3 separate regions of the Homo sapiens genome follow, and regions 1 and 3 are each linked to region 2. The links are contacts of gene promoters, found by promoter capture Hi-C in blood cells and fetal thymus (Javierre and others, 2016). All regions are on one chromosome and are shown on one strand. Each heading gives the region's core, a stretch centred on a gene start or on the middle of the fragment in contact. The rest is flanking DNA. Distances are from core to core; before and after follow the strand shown.

Region 1 (4,165 bases), core at 1,420-3,919, 280 kb after region 2:
GATGAATTTCTCTGAAAACCCTCAATTAAACTTACCGGAAGTTTTGGTTCTTTATTGGGTAAAACTACTTTGACATTATAAGCACCTAACAAATGTTTTCAAAATAGGCTAAAATGCAGGAATTTTTCTACATTGAGTCAAGTCTTTTGGCTTCAAACATTTGCCAATGGAATAGAGAACTATGAGACATTCAGCCATGTGCCTTATTTTGTTTAAATAACAAATCACTGATATCTAGGTGACCACCAACTGTTAGAACTTAAACATCTTTATATAAAAAAAAGACTGCTAGTAAGCAAGCCACTTATAAAACAATGTATAGAAATTAAAATCCTATTTTTCTAATACCATGATCCCTAAACATTGGCTTAACATATTTATGAAGAAAAGCAAAACAATCAGTGTAGCACTGATAATCTCCTAAACCAGATGTTCTTAAATTAGCATAGCCACATCAATAGGATCCTAGTGGCTCCCAAAGGTGCTCTGGGGTTCCATAAATGTTTGGCTTGCATTTCACTTTCAAAATATCCTTTATACTTGCAAAGCTGTGACACTGTCTCTGTCACATATAATAATGTGTAATGAAAAACAGCATACACACTTAAATGTGTTAAAAATCAAACGCAAACACATCCCTTAAAGCTGCCAGGCCACTTTGATTTTATGCAGACCTAGGAATAAAGTTTCTGCTGCCAGCTTTTTCCGCATATCTCAACTTCTTGTAAACATGTCACTGATTAGGAAGGCTGCAGCTTCACACTGAACATTCTTAAAACTCTGGTTTGCACATAGCTACTTAAGTAAAATTATACTCAGGAATAGAAGTTGTCTGTAGAAATAGGATTTCCTCAATAGCATACAATCAAAATAAAATGTGAAAATAAAAAGCAGCAGCTGTGATTATAATGGCATCCATAATCCAATTACAAATTTAAGTCTTAATGTTCTCAATTTAGAAGAAATTTGCACTAATGAAACAAATGTACGCTAATGAAGAGTCACTTATCTGTGACTTTTTTCTCGCTATGAAGAAGTTAAATTACTAAAACAGTCTAAATAGTCAAATAATAAATTCACAGATTTTGAATTTTCTTCCACAAGGTAACAAGCAGTACAGCCAGAGGACTTTGAAATCTCTATGGCCATTGTTTCCACAATGCTACAAACTTCACAGTACCCTTCATATAGCAGTCACAGAAATTCATAACTTGATTTTGAAATTCAGTAAAATAAGTGTCTTCAGTCAACTGTCTTTTTACTTTCAGTTAGTATTCCAATTATATCCACTTATTTATCGTATTAGAATTTGTAAGCATCTTTGCAGAATGGCAACTGAATCAACAAATTGGTAAAAAAGAAAAAGTTATATTTAACTTAAACAATGCCTCTGACATATTTATTAAAATACGTGAATCTGGAAAAAAAGAAAAATTATTAACAAATATATAAAATAATAGCCATCTCTGATAGGACTTTCAGTGAGCCTAAGGCACTCTTTCTCAGATTTTTCCACTTAAAAATATTAAGGCTATATTATGAGAATATGGGAGTCTGTGGCTATTTTGTCTTTTAATAGCCACAGACTCCCATATTCTCATAATATAGCCTTAGGAAAACCAGGCAAAGAATACATAACTTCTTTTTAATATTTTCTCTTAAAAATTATTGTGAATTTTGTGTTGTATTTCATAACATATCCTTTAATTTTAAAATTTTAAAGAGTTCTTTCTCCTCTAAAAATCTTTGAGTAAAACTAAAACTCCAGGAAGATGCATCACTTTCATTCCAAGTCTTTGACCTGACATAACCAAGTGGCCACTAACACCCCAGGACAAGGAGCAGGGACCAACGTTTGATGCACTCCAGCGTATTTCCATCTGCAGTAATTAAAACATTTTTCCCCAGTCTATTCAAGATCAAAATGTATTCTTCCTTGAATGAATAACTTACATTTTCATGTTTCATATGTTTAAGTAACCGCAGTTCTCTGTAGGTTCTTTTCGCATGAATGATGGACTGAAATGGTCTGGAGAGCTTCTTCACTGCCACACGTAACCCCGTTTTTGTGTCAAAAGCAGCACTAAGGAGAAAAAAGGGAAAAAACCCACCATTAAAAAGCTGTTCTAAATATTATTTTGGGGTATTTATAAGGCTATTTCCAAATTAAAGGGTCTATAACAAAATACCAAAAAAAAGCATAAAGATAAAAAGCAAAATGACCTATTATCCCATTATCCAAATAAAGCTTCTGTTATTATTTTTGGTGTTTTCTCCTTGTCTTTTCTATGTATCTAAATCAGAAGTCAGCAAATTTTTTTCAATGAAGGGCCAGATAGTAATATTTTCAACTTTGTAAGTAAGACCTCTGTCACAACTACTCAACTCTGTGGTTGTATGAGGAAAGCAGCCAGAAAATAAGTTTTAAAATGGGTGTGGCTGTGTTCTAATAAAATTTACAAAAACTGGCAGCTGCCTGATCTAGATGAGCCAACAGATTAATAAACAGAGTTGAATTCTGTCTTCCCTGCCTAGGCCTCACTGTCGTCACCTTGCCACATCTGCTGCCTGCTCAGAGTCGAGGCCCAGGAAACCATGTTTTCAGGACAATAAATTGCCACAAATATTTCTTGAGCACCTACAAAGTACTTGGCACCTTCAGGGAATGGGGGAAGAGCAGAACAGAATAATAAAATAATTTCAAGTAGTGATGAAAATACTATGACTAAATAAAAGGGTAATGGGATAAAGAGTGACAGAAAGCCAGTGGAGTTATACCACTTTAGCTAGGATGGCTGAGGAATGACATCTGAGCTGAGAAGGAAACAATATAATGATTAAATTCCCTATATAAATATATAAGAAAAAGAGCTTCAAGCAGAAGAAATAATAATAATATTAATGTTTATAGAGTCTTTACCCACACATACAAGAAATTGTTCTAAGCCCTTTACATTTATTTGTCTCAATTCAGCTTTTGTATTTCCCCGAATCCCCTATGAAATAAGTACTATTATCATTCTCCCACTTACAAGTAAGAAACTGAAGCAGAGAGAAGTTAGGTAACTTGACCACGGTCACAAAGCTTAAAAGCGGCAGAGCAGGGAGTCTGGATCCAGAGCTTATGCTACTGACCACTTGACTCTGCTATCTCTCAGAAGAGCAAGTGCAAACAAACGAAAAAAGAAACAGAGGTAGGAAACGTATGGCATGCTGGAGTGAGTGACAGAAAGACAGAAAGGCTGTGTGGGTAGAGCACAGGGAGCAAGGGGAGAGTGGGAAGGGATGACGTAAGAGATGCAGGCAGCAGCTAGATCATGGAGGACATCTATAGCAAAAATGCGATGTGTATTTTAATTATTTTTAGAAATCGTCGCCAGGCACAGTGGCTCATGCCTGTAATCCAGCACCTTGGGAGGCCGAGGCGGGAGGATCACGAGGTCAGGAGCTCGAGACCAGTCTGACCAAGATGGTGAAACCCCATCTCTACTAAAAATACAAAATTAGGCGCAGTGGCAGGTGCCTGTAATCCCAGCTACTCAGGAGGCTGAGGCAGGAGAATCACTTGATCCCAGGAGGCGGAGGTTGCAGTGAGCTGAGATTGCACCATCGCACTCCAGCCTGGCAATAAGAGTGAAACTCGGTCTCAAAAAAAAAAAAAAATAGTAATAACAGAAATTGTCTGGGCCAGTTCCATTATGCCTCATCCTCCAGTTTGTCTCAGTCTCTAACATGTATCCAAGACTTTCTGGTCATCTGTTATCACCAAACTCTCTGCCTGCCAAACTTGCTTTTACAACTCTGTACCTACTCCAGTGCCCTTCCTTTCACTCCCAAACTTTTATGGCATACCCTCAATCTTCAAATCCCAATTTGTGATAAACTCCTATAAATCTTCAACCTCTTTTCTGAACCTCCCCTCCATCTCTGAAACTAGGCCATTTCTAGAAGACACTGCTTCTCTTATAGCCCTGCCATTAGAAAGCATTCTCTAATAGCCCAGATACCTCCTGGCTAGCAGGTGCGTAGGAGTCTTCCTTGGCAGCCGTTACCACTTCAGGACCATTACTTTCCGTTTGTTCTATAAAATACCTCCTGCTCACAACCCTGATAAACTATCCCTCTCTGCTGCAGGTATCCACTGACCTGAAATTTTCCATCATTC
Region 2 (4,014 bases), core at 207-2,706:
ACTCTGTTGCCTAGGCTGGAGTGCAGTAGCACGATCATGGCTCACTGCAGCCTTGACCTCCTGGGCTCAAGCAATCCTCCTGCCTCAGCCTCCTGAGTAGCTGAGACTACAGGCATGTGCCACCATGCCTGGCTAATTTTTAAAATTTTTAGTAGAGATAAGATCTCACTATGTTGTCCAGGCTGGTCTTGAACTTCTGGGCTCAAGCAATCCTCCTACCTTGGTCTCCCACAGTGCTGGGATTACAGATGTGAGCCACCATGCCTGGCCTTCTTCTTTTCTTTGTAAGCATTATCGCATTTGGCCCAACTACCCTCTGAGATGACTACTTGTTTTATAAGTGAGCACAAGCTCAGTGACATCATGTCCCCTGCTGTGGTTACACAGCTGGCAGGTGTCTCCAGATGGGGCTGACTCCAAAGTTTGGTGCTTCCATATATATTTTGTGATGCCTCCCTGTGTTAATGAACCAAAACAGAATTTCTTAATATTTTTTTCTTTTTTTTTCTTTTTTTTTTTTTTTTTTTTTTTGAGACAGAGTCTCACTCTGTCACCCAGGCTGGAGTGCAGTGGCACGATCTCAGCTCACTACAACTTCTGCCTCCTGGGTTCAAGTGATTTTCCTGCCTCAGCCTTCCAAGTAGCTGGGATTACAAGTGTCTGCCACCATACCTGGCTAATTTTTGTATTTTTAGTAGAGATGGAGTTTCGCCATGTTGGCCAGGCTGGTCTCGAACTCCTGACCTCAGGTGATCCGCCTGCCTCAGCCTCCCAAATTGCTGGGATTACAGGTGTGAGCCACCGTGCCCGGCCTTTGCTTTCATTTTAATAAAACATGTTTTTCTTTTCTGATTATAAACATGTATTTACACTCTATTTTTTAAAATAAGGCATTACAGAAAGTGGAAATCTGACTTTTTAAGACTTCTTAGAATGTTCTCTCAAGATCCATGGCAACCCTTCCCGGGCATAGCAGATCTGGAACACGTGGCTCTTGTGGGCTCTTCCTTCTGGGTTGTCTCCAGGTCAAGGGATGTATGTATCCCATCGCTGACCTTTCTTTCTAGGTACCTCCCTCCCCACTAATCTTCAAAGATAACTGAGGGATGTTGTAAAGGCAATAAAGCCACCTCGACTTTCTCCCCCTAACCTGCATTTCCCATTAAGTCTTGTTTTCAACTCTACAGGTGGGGTTTTCCCCAGCCAGACCTTAGGTTATTTTCTGAGCTTTGGTTTCTTACTGGGGTTTGGGTGCAATAAGGAAGTTGACAAGTGAAACTGTTTTTTCCAGGGTAGCTGAGCTAAGCCTCTTATCATTGGAGGAGCGGGGAGCAGTCCTGGGATGGGTGGTAACAGGTGGAGGAAGGTGAGCCAGCCCATGGCTCTCTGGATTGGCTGCCATGAGCTCAGTTCCTGGGAGATACTGTATATATGGACGGCCAAAGCATCTTCTGAGACACTCAGAAAATTGCCAGCACCAAAGTAGTGGCATCTTCTCCCTGGGAGAGCTGGGTCTGACTTCTCACTGGACACAACTTCCAGCTGACAGGGAGCAGAGCCTAACACAGAGACCTCTTGTCTGAAGATCCCAGCCCAGGGTGTTCAGGACAGAAGCGATTTCTGTGGTCCAAGGTTGGTTGAACAATACCCTCTCCTTTGGGGGCGGGAGCAGTGGGTATGTATCTTGGGGTCCGGAGAAGAGTTTAGTCCTGGGTGTCAAACCAAGAGTCCAGTCCCAATGCTGCTTCCAGCATGCTGGGCCCTCCCAGAGAGGCAATGGGGGTGGAGGTGGGGGATCAGTTTTCTTATCTCTAAAAAGAGGGAGCAAGGTTCAATGACATTATCTCAACGGGGTGTTTCTCAAAGGGCTCTGGGCTCACTCGGACTTAAAACTCTGTATTCAAGTCCCAATCCTGCTTATTAGCCGCCACCCTGAGCAAGGAACTTCACTTCCTTGGGCCTCAGTTTTCTTGTCTGTAGGATGGGGCAGCATTACATAGCTCACCTGCTAGTTTCCCTCAGGATGTGGTAGAGGTCAAGTTATAGACTTTATGTGAAGGTACATGAGGGAACCCCCTGATAAATGAGAGGTGTTATTATGACCTATGGTTAAATTAAGGTTCTATGAGTTTTAAGGTTTTTGGAAGTTAGTCCAAGAATGGGGAAATCTTATTAAAATAACTCATGGTCTACTGCTCTCTTGGATGGGAATGTAGAGGCTGGGAGGTGGATTATAACCCACAGTCCTGACCGACTCCTCACACAGTGTTGCATTGCCCGTGGTCTTGGATAGAGGACAGAATGGGGTGGGGAGGGCATGGGTGTCTATACCTAGGCACACGTGATTGTGTGACTCCATGTGCATAGGTCATGGTAGGTGTGTATGTGACTGTGATTACCTCCATCAGTGTGAAATAGCAGGTTTCTCCCCTAAGTCCATGTGTAAGTGCGTGCATGTGTATCTATGCTTACATGAGGCCATTTGGTGTAGAATAGAGAATGTAGGATTTGAATCGGGAGAAGTGGGAGAGTCTCAGCTCTCTGCTTCCCGGCTATGTGACCTTGGGCGTGTCTCTTAATGGTCCGGAGCCTCAGTGCCCCACTGTTAGCCCATCTGATTCACTGCTCCTGGCAAAGATGAAATGAGATCATGTCAATGAAACGGCTCTCTGGACGCCGTGTGGCTGCATGAAGGTGAGCTGGTTTGGGTTTGCACATGCCTGTGTATCATTTGTTTGTTTCACAAACACTGAGAGCCTCCCAGGCTCAGGTCCCCTCTCATGGAATTTAGAGTTAGGACCGATGGCAAGCGGTGAGCTTGGTCACATAATTATTCCCTTACACTTGGGACAGGAGAAATACAGGGCGTCTTGAGTCCATGTTGGTCTGTGGTGTGCACAAGTGTGTTCTGGTGACACGTGGATGTCTGTGGTGTTGACTGTGGGTCCACGTGTGTGTGCCACACACTCTGTCCCTCAGGGTGCTGCTGTGGGTGTGCAGCAGGTTGGCTCTCTGTGAAGTTTCTATTGTGTGAATCATGGGGTGGAGAAGGGGAGCCGCGAAGTTATCTCCATGAAAGGCACCAGAGCAGTTAGAGAGTAACGCGGCCAGGTGAACAAATTAGAGAACAGCATAGAGATGAGGTCACCGTGCAACTTAGAAAGTAAACAACACACAGCAGCAAGCTTGGGGAAGGCAAGCAAACTTCCCGTTCCAGGGTCAGCTTTGTGAGCCTTCTCTGGTTCTTTGTTGCTGTTGCTGGACATGTCACCGGTAAATGTCACATCTTATCAGAAGCAGTCTTGTGATGTGCAGATCACTTGGGTATTTCTGAGCTGATTTGGACTTTGCTCTGACATCCACTTTCGGCCAAGGCAATAACAAGTTTACAAGATCAGCTGGGTTTCCGCATAGTGAGACCACGCTGCTCACTTAGGATTCCTGGTCTGGAGCACAGTCTGCACAGGGTGGGATTCCCTGGTGGTCGGACTGAACGTAGTTGAGCACCTGGGGCACAAAACAAAAAAAGAAGAAGAAAGGAAAGGAAAGTCTTGCTTTGATAAATCCTGGATAGCAGAATTTTATATTTGGAAAGTCTTGAACGGTTTAATTTTGGCACATGTAGGAAAGGGGAGGTTATTAGGATTAAAAGACAAGCTTCCCAGGGCTTAGAGACTGAGGACACCCCATCCGCAGAGGTTCTTCAGGGGTCTTCCTGGGGGCGTGTGGGTGTGTCTTCCCCAGTCAGCCGCGCTGTCTCAATCCCTGGCCTAGAGCTGAAGACAATCTTTGGAACATTACAGAGGAGGAGCAGTTGGAGCGGGGGAGAGGGAGGAGAGAGCTGGACTGAGGACAGTCACAGCCACCCAGAGAGGAAAGAGAAAAGAAGGAAGTAGGGCTGGTATCAAATACTGAAGCACGTAAGGGAGGACAAGACATGGGAAGAGGCCACTGGATTTGGAATTAGGAAACCTTGGGAGACCCTGGAATCTCTTCACTGGGGAAACTCTTGGA
Region 3 (4,301 bases), core at 1,469-3,968, 330 kb after region 2:
GCCTGTAATCCCAGCACTTTGGGAGGCCAAGGCAGGCAGATCGCTTGAGCTCAGGAGTTCAAGACCAGACTGGGCAACATGGTGAAACCCTTGTCTCTACTAAAAAAAAAAAAAAAAAAAAAAAATTTAACTAGGTGTGGTGGTGCAAGCGCCTGTAGTCCCAGCTACTTTGGGAGGCTGAGGTGGAAGGATCACTTGAGCCTGGGAGGTTGAGGCTGCAGTGAGCCAAGATCGCACTCCAGCCTGGGTGACAGAGCAAGACAGTCACACACAAAAAAAAGAAAAAAAGTAAATAGGGGCTATTCAACATTACAACATTATAATGGAGTGCATACACAGTATATTAAAGCAAGAAAAAGAAGTACAAAGTATAAGAATTATAAATGAATAAAGCTTCATTATTCACAGATGATTTTTATGCAAAGAATTCAAAAGAATATAAAGAAAATTGATATGACTTTTTTAAAAGCAAAAAAAATTTTAAAAAGGCATAAAAAAAGAAAAACAAAGAAAATAGTAAGATTTTATGAATGTTGCTGGATACTAAATCAGCATATAACAATCAGTTATGCTTAGGTGCAATGGCTCATGCCTATAATCCTAGCACTTTGGGAGGTTGTGGCGGGTGGACTGCTTGAGCCCAGGAGCTCAAGACCAGCCTGGCAACACAGTGACACCCTGTCTCTATGAAAACTACAAAAAATCTAGATGGGCATGGTGGTGCATACCTGTAGTCCAGCTACTTGAGAGACTGAAGTGGGACGATTCCCTGAGCCTGGGAGGTTGAAGCTGTAGCGAGCTGTGATTACACCACTGCACTCTAGCCTGGGCAACAGAGCGAGACTCTGTCTCAAAAAAAAAAAAAAAAAAAGCAGAAATAAAATTGTGTTCAGTATAACTCTTAATATAAAGTTCAAAATGGGAGCAAATTAAACTGTATTGTGTAGGGATACGTACACTACTGGTAAAGAAAAGCAAAGAAATAGGCCGGGCATGGTGGCTCACGCCTGTAACCCCAGCACTTTGGGAGGCCGAGGCAGGCAGATCATGAGGTCAGGAGATCGAGACCATCCTGGCTAACATGGTGAAACCCCATCTCTACTAAAAATACAAAAAATTAGCTGGGCGTGGTGGCAGGCACCTGTAATCCCAGCTACTCAGGAGGCTGAGGCAGGAGAATGGCGTGAACCCGGGAGGCGGAGCTTGCAGTGAGCCAAGATTGTGCCACTGCACTCCAGCCTGGGCAACAGAGTGAGACTCTGTCTCAAAAAAAAAAAAGAAAAAAAGAAAAGAAAAGAAATTATTATCATAAACGCCAAAATAAGGAATCCTTCTGTGGGGAGAGGTGGTGTTGTAATCAAAGACCTGGGTGGTACTTACGTAAGTGTTTGTTTTATAAATATTAAGTAACCTTGACATCTATTAATCTATTTTAATGCATTTTCTACATGCATGTTATATTTCACAATAAAAATGGAGATTACTAAATTAATTACCAAAACTATTACTAAAGTAATTAGAGCAATTAACACAGTACAATATTGCAGAGATAGACAATTAGGCCAATGAAACAGAAAAAAGAGTCACACGTATATGAATCACATGATGTGTATCAGATATGTCACTACAGAGACAGGCTGTTAATGACAAATGATGTAAAACACTTGGGTCTCTATAAAGAAAAACATTTCAGGCCTTTACCTCACACCATACACAAAAATCTATTCCTGGTTGATTAAAGACCTAAATGTAAAAGTTAAAGCAAAAAAGACATTTTGGAATAACATAAGAGAATATCTTTATGATCCTGAGGTAGAAAAAGGTTTCTTAAGTAAGACACCAAAAGCAAAAGGAAAAGCCCAAAGGAAAAGACCGATAAATCTGAGGTAAGTACAATTTAAGAACTTCTATCTATTCAAAGCTGCTATAAAGTTTGAAAAGCGGCCAGTCACACTGATTTATGCCTGTAATCCCAGCACTTTGGAAGGCTGAGGTGGGTGAATCATTTGAGGTCAGGAGTTTGAGACCAGCCTGGCCAACATGGTGAAACCCCGTCTCTACTAAAAATACAAAAATTAGCCGGGCATGGTGGCGTGCGCCTATAGTCCCAGCTACTCAGGAGGCTGAGGTGGGAGAATCGCTCAAACAAGGAGGTGGAGGTTGCAGCAAGCCAAGATCATCACTGCACTCCAGCCTGGGAGACAGAGAGAGATGCCATCTCAAAAAAAAAAAAAGATTGAAAAGCAAATCACAAAATGGGAGATACTTGCAAAACAATACGCAACAAAGGCTTTATTTATAATATACATACTCCTATAAATCCATAAAAATAACTAGACAAGGGTGCTCAACATTATTAGTAATAAAATGGAAAATGAAATTGAAATGAGTTACCACCATACACACTAAAATTAAAAATCTAGCAGTATCGAGTGCTAGCATAGATGTGGATAATGGGAACTGTCATACATTACTGGTGGGAGTATAAATTGCACAACCATTTGGAAAACAGTTTGGCACTATTTAGTAAATGCCCCAGAAGTTGAAATTCAAGCTATATATTCTCAAGAAACTTGTAAATCCATGTACCAGGAGACATGTACAAGAATATTCATAGCAATATTGTTCATAATAGCCCCAAACTGGAAACAAAGACAGGATACCATGAACCCTGGAAACAAAGAGAATGGGAAGGTAGCAACCTTGGATTCTGATGGCTTTTTAGTTCGGTTCCAGTCTCTGATGAGGTCTAACTGCCCTTTGTACCCTTTTAATAAATTTCCTATTTTGCTTAAGCTAATTTGAGTAGATTTTCTGTTACTTGCAATCAATAGAGCCTTGCATAGGGGAAAAAATGTGGTGAAAAAATCCTATAGATTACAAGAGACTTAAGAGACATATCAACCAATGTGAGGACCATATTTGGGTTCTGATTTAGACACACAGATTGTGAAGCAAAGCACAACATGTAACAGCAAATAATTTTTTAAAGATCACCCCAAAACTCATCATACCTCTGGTTCGAGGTCTCTCGTGAGATTGCAGTTATCTCAAGGGTCTACTGAGGCTGGAGGATCTGCTTCCAGGCTCACTCATGCAGCTGTTGGCAGGCCTGAGTTCCTCCCCATTCTGGCTTCTCCATATTCACAACATGGCAGCTGGCAGGACCAACTATATGTGTTGGGCCCAATACAAAATAAAAACACAGGGCCCTTAGTTCAAAAATTATTCAGAATTTCAAGACAGTGACAGCAAAGCATTAAACGAAGTGCAAAGTCCTTCTAAGCCCAGGACTCTGTCTTGACTGCATAGATTACAAACCTTTGAAGCCACCTCTGGCAGGTAATGACCTGAATGAGAGAGCAACCAAGATGGAAACCAAAGTCTTTTTGCAACCTAATCTCAGAAGTGACATCCTGTCATTTTTGTTATAGTCTACTCCTTAGAAACAAATTGGTTAAGTCTATTCCACACTTAATGGGGAGGAAATTGTACAAGGGCAAGAAGACAATTGGCCTGGCTGGGCGCGGTGGCTCACGCCTGTAATCCCAGCACTTTGGGAGGCCGAGGCGGGTGGATCACGAGGTCAGGAGATCGAGACCATCCTGGCTAACACGGTGAAACCCCATCTCTACTAAAAATATAAAAAATTAGCCGGGCATGGTGGTGGGCGCCTGTAGTTCCAGCTACTCGGGAGGCTGAGGCAGGAGAATGGCATGAACCCAGAAGGTGGAGCTCGCGGGGAGCCGAGATCGCGCCACTGCACTCCAGCCTGGGCAACAGAGCAAGACTCCGTCTCAAAAAAAAAAGAAAAAGAATACCAACTGGCCATTGTGGATCATATTAGAGACCCTCTACCACAACAATCATTTGTAAGATAATCAGGGAAATTTGAACACTGAGTGGATAATGATGATATTGTACTTAAATTAGAAGAGTATTATCATTTAGAGACACATACCAAAATATCTACAGATTAAATAATCGAATGCCTTGGATTTGCCTCAAAGTAATATAGGGTGAGAGAGGAGTAGAAGCATAGATTGGTTATGGGTTAACCATTGTTGAAGTGGATGATGGGTATATGGAATTCATTATACTCTATTTTTGGATGTGTTTGAAATGTCTTATAAAAAGGAGCCTTGCTTATCTAAGACAATAAACCACCTCACTAAATTCATAACTGAATTTAGATGAGTATATCAGTATGATGTAAATTGAGGACAGACTCTTAGGGAAGGAAATAGGGGCTTGAAACATCAAAAGGATGACACTATGCCTGTTAGTCCATTTGCTTCAAA

What was found. Contacts are between HindIII fragments. The CHiCAGO score rates a contact against its expected background, and 5 or more counts as called.
Region 1: a contact is called between a fragment that was not itself captured here and the fragment with the promoter of BNIP5 in region 2, in 1 of 17 cell types (total CD8 T cells). The highest score is 5.1, in total CD8 T cells.
Region 3: a contact is called between a fragment that was not itself captured here and the fragment with the promoter of BNIP5 in region 2, in 2 of 17 cell types (total CD8 T cells and naive CD8 T cells). The highest score is 5.8, in total CD8 T cells.

What each region holds. Positions count from the first base shown.
Region 1 is chr6:36,050,617-36,054,781 of GRCh38, reverse strand. MAPK14 (mitogen-activated protein kinase 14) reads right to left here. Exons shown (of 12, transcript NM_139012.3): 2 at 1,954-2,083. Among named protein-coding and RNA genes, the nearest start is that of MAPK14, 25 kb to the right of the region's middle. The HindIII fragment of the contact is 837 bases long and covers 2,251-3,087 here.
Region 2 is chr6:36,334,330-36,338,343 of GRCh38, reverse strand. BNIP5 (BCL2 interacting protein 5) reads left to right here and starts at 1,456. Exons shown (of 12, transcript NM_001010903.5): 1 at 1,456-1,632. The HindIII fragment of the contact is 11,027 bases long and covers 1-3,187 here.
Region 3 is chr6:36,000,645-36,004,945 of GRCh38, reverse strand. The region is part of intron 3 of SLC26A8 (solute carrier family 26 member 8); the gene reads left to right. LOC105375034 (a long non-coding RNA gene) reads right to left here. Exons shown (of 4, transcript XR_926746.3): 2 at 3,015-3,171. Among named protein-coding and RNA genes, the nearest start is that of SLC26A8, 22 kb to the left of the region's middle. The HindIII fragment of the contact is 4,645 bases long and covers 396-4,301 here.